2 separate regions of the Homo sapiens genome follow, and region 2 is linked to region 1. The links are contacts of gene promoters, found by promoter capture Hi-C in human tissues and cell types (Jung and others, 2019). All regions are on one chromosome and are shown on one strand. Each heading gives the region's core, a stretch centred on a gene start or on the middle of the fragment in contact. The rest is flanking DNA. Distances are from core to core; before and after follow the strand shown.

Region 1 (3,304 bases), core at 805-3,304:
AATCTCTGCTCTCAGAACTGCCTGGTATGAGCAGCAGAACTAGAAATGGAGAATGCAATGAGATCAGGTCCAGATTGGGGGAGGGGGAGGATTTTAGGGCACCTAAACCAGGCCTAATGGACTTTTGCCACCAACCACCTAGAACCAAGGATAGAAGCATTTGGCTGCACCCTGCCAGGTGACTCAATTAGGCCCTGAGCATCCAAGCAGCAGCAGGGGGCTGATGACTCATCCCAGACAGTGTGTGCTTAGAGGGTCCTGGGACCCCTTTTTCCAGTGAGGGAGGGCTTGCCAGTTGGTCTTATGGGTCCTGTTTGTGGCCAAGTCCAAGGTCACCGAGGGTCCCAGAGACAACCCTACACCTCCTAGTCTAGCCTCCAATCTTTTGCCTGGTCCCTTGCTTCAGAAGAGATCTTGGGGAGTACTAGGGAAAGGAACATCTGCCTAGCCCTTGGGATTAGTGGGGTGACAGATGTCCCCACTGGTTTGCCTTCATATCTAGAGGGTAGATAGGTCATCCCACATGGTTCAGAGAAAGCTAGTGCCTCAGAGAACAAGTGGCTGACCTGCCTTCCTGTTCTGGACTACAAACGGGAGCCAGTGCTGGCAGGAAAGACTGAAAGGGAACCCAGCAGGAGGAGGAGGAAGGAAGCCACTGAGAATCCCCCCTTCTATGAAGAGAATGAGTCTAGAGCTCTGGCTGGCTCTCCTGGTAGAAGCTCACCTCTCAGTCCAATTTTCTCCCAGCAGTGAGGAAAGATGGCAGCTGCTGCTTTTCAAAGCTCAGAGAGAGCAAGAAACCTTTTCCTTCCATCCTCCCCCTCGGAGATTCCCACCCCCATCCCACCTCAGGAGCCAAAAAGGTAGGCTCAGGTTCCCAGCAGTCTTCGCAGCTAAGGCTGAATCTGCCAAAAGCCCCCGCCCAGCTTATCCCCTGCTTCCGGGCTTTGCCTCCCTGTCCACAGAGGATGCTCTTCAGCCAGAGTGCTCCAGGGTTCCCCTGATCATTCTCTACCTGCAGCTAGGCTGACCATGCCTCTGTCCACATTATTTAATCCACCAGGCAATACTCAAAATGACATCGTTAACACTTCCTGAGCATTCGCAGGCTGCTGTATTTAGTTCTGATCCCCATTCTTCCTCCATGAGAGTGCTTAGGTGGGGCATGATCTCCAGCTTAGAAAGGTTAAGGTAACTTGCCCAAGGTCACACAGCAGGAAAGTAGCAAAAAACTTGTTTCTCTTGCCCAGCAGTTTGGCAGGTGCTCAAATAATCTTTGTGCACAGGGTGACATCTGTTGTTTCTTCATTTCCCTGACCTGTGGGTACTTGAGGGTGGCCGGGGAGTGGTGTGTGGGGAGGGAGATGGCTGTCCTTCTTCATGAATGAATCTTTGACCTCCTTAGTTTACTCTCACTTCCAAAGAAGTTACAGCTTTAATCTCTCTGTACCCTATGTTCAATGTATTTATCGCAGCAATGCCCCTTTTACCAAGAGCAACGAAGAGCAGGTCTAATGATTTCCTTCTCAAAAGCGCAAAGACCAAAAAAAAAAAAAAAAAGCCAGATAAATAGCCCCACTTCCTCCCCAAATATACAGCCCATAACTAAACAACCAAAACAACCAAAGCATCAGCCGGGCCCCTGCACTGACCGCAGACGCCCCCAACACACGCCACCACGCCACACTGCGCCGGGAGGCGTCGGGGAGGGGGCGCCAGCGCGGGCCGCTGGCGCCGCAGGGAGCCGGTGGGCTCCGGGCGCGCTGCCAGGAAGGGCCGCACCGTAGGGGCCGCCGCCTCTCGCCACGTGGTGGTGGCAGCGGCGGGGTCCGGGGCGCCTTCCCAGCTGGAGAAACCCGGAGCAGCCGGGGAGGAGGAGGCGGAGGAGGCGGCGGCGGCGGAGGAGGAGCGGGGCGGACGGGAGGGAGGGGGTTGGGGGGAGGGGTGGGGGGTGGGGAGAGACCCGGCGGCGGCGACAGGGCGAGGAGCAGAGCGCGGTACCAGGGGGGTGGGGGCACTGGTGCCCGTTTGGGGAGGGAGCAGGCGGAGGGGGTAAGCTGCGATTACAAGCAGGAACCGGCAGCAGCTGTGAGTCCCCGGCTGGGGCTAGGGCTGGGGGAGGGGAGCGGCGCCCGGGCTGGGCCCCAGGGGTCGCGGGGTGGGCAGGAGGAGGCGGCAGGAGGGCGGCTGGCAGCCGCACGGGATGGCTGGGAGGGAAGGGGTCCGGTGTCGGCCGCCCTCATCCCCTCGCGTCCCCCTCCGCCGCCGTTCCTCAGGCCGCGCCACTCCCGGAGCCCCTTCCCCGGCCCCGAGAGGGTGTCCGGGGGCCCAGGGCTCGGCCGGTTGTGGGGGAGGGGGCTGCGTGGTCTCGGCCCCCGAGAGGGGAGGGGCGACAATTTCTGTCGGCCGAGCGAAAGGGGTTTAAAGGGCGGCTCTTAAAGGGGCCGCAGGAGGGGCCCGGGCCGACAGAGGCACTCACCCCTTCCCCAGCCGCCTTCCATTGCGCTCACCCGGGCGCTGGGCCCAGAGAGGAATGCGGAGGAAGGAGGCATTTGTGGTGCGGCCTCGGGGACAGAGCCCCGCCAGCGGGGTGGGCGCAGAGGGGCGGGCGGGGGTCTGGGGGGGTGTGGTAAGCGCTGGCGCGCGGAGCTGGGGGGAGGGGATGGCGTGGGAAGGAGAGGGTTAAAGGTGGGGCCGGCCCTACAAACGCGCGCACACACTCCTTACTCAGACCCAGTCACTCGCGTTTCCCTGGCACTTAGATGGGCCTGTGGGTGGCGGAGGGGGGGGGGTGGATTGAATTGGAGCCTGCGCCGGAGCCCTTTGCACCCCAAGCTCCTGCAGCCCGACCTGGGGGCCCCGCTGTCTGAACTCACAGCTCCCTGCCGAGCCCCCTCTCCGGGGTGCACATAACGCTCCAGCGCGCGCACACACCTCGGACAGTCCCCTCGCGTCTCACGTGACACGCGGCCCGGACGTGCCACCCTGCCCACGCGCTCACGCACGCGTGCACACACCAGCCTCCTGGTCGCTGCCCCACTCCGTCCCGACGCCCCTGCGACCCCGAAGGCACTCATTGACTGACACACCTACACTCATTCACAGACGCACACTCCCCCCATACGCCAACCCCAGACACACATTCATAACCAGGCCCGAGAGAAGTACACACGCACCCCCTCACTGCCTACTCCTGCTTTCGGGAGCCTGAGTCATTCCTGCCCCCTCGTAGGGTTCCCCATTTCCCGGTGCGCGGGCACCCTGAGACAGCCTTGGGAATTCGTTCGCGTCCCCTTCCACCTGG
Region 2 (3,591 bases), core at 1,092-3,591, 180 kb after region 1:
TCTGATCTTCCCCTTCCCTGGGTCCTGACACTCCTTGCCCTCAGCACAGGAGCCCTGCACCCCACCATCATTCCCTGAGGGTGAGTGAAGCAGGTGGTTCCTGTGGACTCTGAGAAGAACTGAGGAGCCTCCCCTGTCACAGTGAGCTCCCCACTAACCTGCCCTGTTGCCAAAAAACCCTACCATTAGAGTGTTTCTGTGAGTACCATGTTCTGTTTAAAGACATGTGTCACTGTGGGTCTGGCTGACATATTCTGGAATTATCACCTTAGCAGAAAACAGGGACTTGGGATCCTCTGGTAGATTCGAGGTGGTTGAAGAAGAGAAGAAGACCTGGAGTGAAAAAAGGAATAGACACTGTCTAGAAATGCATTCAATCAATGGATGTTTATTGAACACTTACTATGTCCTGGGCCCCGAGCTCAGCAGTGGGGATGGGGTGAACAAGAGTGGCTGGCTTCATGTAGGAAAATAGGTGTTTCTCAAACTTGAATTACACCCGCATTACCATGGATGACCATTAAAACCCAAGTCCTCAGCTGGGCGCGGTGGCTCACGCCTGTAATCCCAGCACTTTGGGTGGCCGAGGTGGGCAGATCACCTGAGGTCAGTAGTTTGAGACCAGCCTCGTCAACATGGCGAAACCCCGTCTCTACTAAAAATACAAAAATTAGCCAGGTGTGGTGGCACATGCCTGTAATCCTAACTATTTGGGAAGCTGAGGCAGGAGAATTGCCTGAACCCAGGAAGTGGAGGTTGCAGTGAGCCGAGATCGCACCATTGCACTCCAGCCTAAGCAACAAGAGTGAAATTCTGTCTCAAAAAAAAAAAAAAAAAAAGAAAAGAAAACAAAAACCCAAGTCCTCAAGCCTCTGTTGATCCAGTGAGTCTATGGGGGCCCAGGAATCTGCACTGAAACAAGCATTTCCCCGGCTGGGCGCGGTGGATCATGCCTGTAATCCCAGCACTTTGGGAGGCCGAAGGCAGGCGGATCACGAGGTCAGGAGATTGAGACCATCCCGGCTAACACGGTGAAACCCCATCTCTACTAAAAATACAAAAAATTAGCCAGGCGTGGTGGCGGGCACCTGTAGTCCCAGCTACTTGGGAGGCTGAGGCAGGAGAATGGCATGAACCCAGGAGGCGGAGCTTGCAGTGAGCCAAGATCGTGCCACTGCACTCCAGCCTGGGTTACAGAGCAAGACTCTGTCTCAAAACAAAAAAAAAAAAAAAGAAACAAGCATTTCCCCTTCCCCTTCCCAGTGATGTAGCTGTAGGTGGTCTGGTGACCACACTTTGAAAAGCCCTGGTGGCAGGTCCTGGGTTCTAAGAACAGCCTGGAGTTTCAGGGATCCACGGAGGTAGAAAGAGGGAGGGAGGGAGGGTGTTGTCAAGAAGAGTTAGCCAGGATAGGAGGTGACAGGCAGGGTCTTCTCCTCATGGCCTGCCATGCCCTGAGAGGGGCTGGGGATCCACCAGGCTCTCTCTGCCTGCAGGTCCCCCCTGGCCCTTCACCATCACTTGGGGGCTTCCCTGGACCCTTCCCTGGGATCAGAGGGTCTTCCACAGAGGCCTCCCAGCACCCTGTTGATTCCCACCTTTCATTTCTCTCTGGGCCCCAAGGCACCTTCTCCTCAGTCTACAAAGGGTGGGCACTAATGGGAAAAGGTGGCAGAGACCCCAGACCACACTCCCCACTCTGTAGCCCCGACCCCCTGGTCTCAGAGGGCTTCCTGGAGTCAGTGTCTAGGCTGAAGAGGGAGGGCCTCAGAGGATGAGATTTGAGGAAGCAGGAATAGAGGTTGAGAGGGAAGGCGAAGGGAGGGAGACTGCCCCTCCTCCCCTCCAGCGCTTGGTGTTTGATGCTGGGGGTGCCGAGACATCTCCTCTCCCGGAAACTCAAGGCCAGACAGATAAACACAGATGGAGGGAGAGACTCGGCTGCTTTATTTATGGGCCCGGTGACAGGCCCTCTCCTGTCTCAGAGTCACTAATCTACCAGGCGGAAGAGACATCCCACTCCCTCGCCACCCTCTTCCCTCCCTCCTAAGACTGGGGCTCAGCCAGGCTCCAAGCCTCCCCTAGGTGGTCAGGCAGTGCCAGTTCCCATGGGCTAGAGGAGAGTGTCCAGAGGCTCAATAGACACCCTCTCTCTCTCTCCCCCAACAAAACAGGGTGTCCTTCCCCTTGAGAAGACTTCTTAAGTCAAGGCCTTTGAAGTCCCTGAAGAGACACCCTGGGCTGCCCCGACTTGGGTCTATCCAGAGCAGGGATTGATGGGGGACCCCATGATGTCCCTAAGGGGTCAGACCCAGAGCTGAAGGGTGCTGCCTCCTGATACTTCCTTCAAATTTACTTCCTCTAACAGCAATTAGCACTCAAATAAAGGGGTCTTTGGGGACCCATCTTAATTGCTCCATTTTCTCCACCTCCACCGTCTCCTTACCCATCCACACTTTCACAAACCTCCTCCTGCCACCCTCCAATGAAGGGTTAAATTTCACTGTGCCTGCTGGAGGGGCCACCAGGAATTGCCCCGCCTCCCATCAGCTGGGAAACATGGGCTCTCTGACTTCCCTGATTCCTTCAGTTCCCTCTCCCTGCCCTGTGTCTGTCTGCCAGCACCCCTTCATTCTGCCATCTTTACCTGGGTCTACCCCAAATCTCTGCATGGGGACAGAACTGAACTCAGCCTTACAGACAGAATGGGTTCCTTGGGCCCCAGGGTCAGAGGTCAGAGAGCACCAAAAGGGCAGAAAGCAGAGGGGGTCAGGGAGGGGGCAGATCCATACCTGTCGGTGGCTTTGAGGCCGGACACTCAGAGCCTTTAAAGCCCCAGAGATTCAGGGATTTGGCTCATGGGATCAGACTGCCCGGCTTCCTGACTCACAGTGGCCAGACCCAGACTGGGACCTGCTCAACTCGCCCCTCTCTTTTTCATTTAAGCGACTTTGGGTCATCCATGGGCCAGGGAGCCCATGTTTCCCCCTCCCATGGCCCCGCCCCATTGTTGGCACCTTATCTGAGCACACAACCCGAGCCTGGGGAAAAGGGGGTGATTTGCAATCCTGGCTCAGATTTACAGTGAAGTCCTAGGTGGTTTCTTCCTCCGGTGAATGGGCATAGTTTGGGGGTAAATGGCATTTACTAGCCTCTCCCCCAATCCCCTGCCAAATCAATTTCAGATTCTCCTCTAGAAAGCTTTCCCCCAATAACTCCACTCAGCCCCTTCCCTGTATCTTCTTCCCATTCTCCCAGCACTACCTCAATAATTCCATTCAGTTGCTGTCTGCCCTTGTTTCTGGTCTCTGCTGATGAATCAGGGATGTATTCTGTCTTCCCACTCAGGCTGAGACATCTCTGTGGTCAAGAACTACGCCTCCCCTATCTAACCACTGCTCCCTGACAGGGTCTCCTCTAGATCTGCTCCCTGCACTGAGCACAGGAAGCTGACTGCTGGCAGGGGAGGAGGTGGCAGAGGGGAGGTCCATCCACCTTTCCGCTCAGGAAAGATTTTCACAAGTAGACAGATCACCCAAAGGAAGTCAGGGAAACATGGAAGCATAAGGGAAAGAATTCCCATTCTTTTTG

Evidence for each region. The method cuts DNA at HindIII sites, captures the fragments that hold promoters and counts their contacts. A contact is called where the count stands out against the background at its distance.
Region 2: a fragment that was not itself captured here is called in contact with the fragment with the promoter of TBKBP1 in region 1 in 1 of the 25 tissues and cell types used here (IMR-90 fibroblasts).

The regions. Positions count from the first base shown.
Region 1 is chr17:47,692,107-47,695,410 of GRCh38, forward strand. It overlaps TBKBP1 (TBK1 binding protein 1), which reads left to right and starts at 2,055. Exons shown (of 10, transcript NM_001394755.1): 1 at 2,055-2,088. RefSeq lists enhancers at 1,810-2,490, 2,491-3,170, 3,171-3,304 and silencers at 2,274-2,403, 2,654-2,713. The HindIII fragment of the contact is 16,798 bases long and covers 1-3,304 here.
Region 2 is chr17:47,875,862-47,879,452 of GRCh38, forward strand. It overlaps a transcript of SP6 not described here. Among named protein-coding and RNA genes, the nearest start is that of SP2-DT, 18 kb to the right of the region's middle. RefSeq lists a cis regulatory region at 1,647-2,224. The HindIII fragment of the contact is 3,905 bases long and covers 390-3,591 here.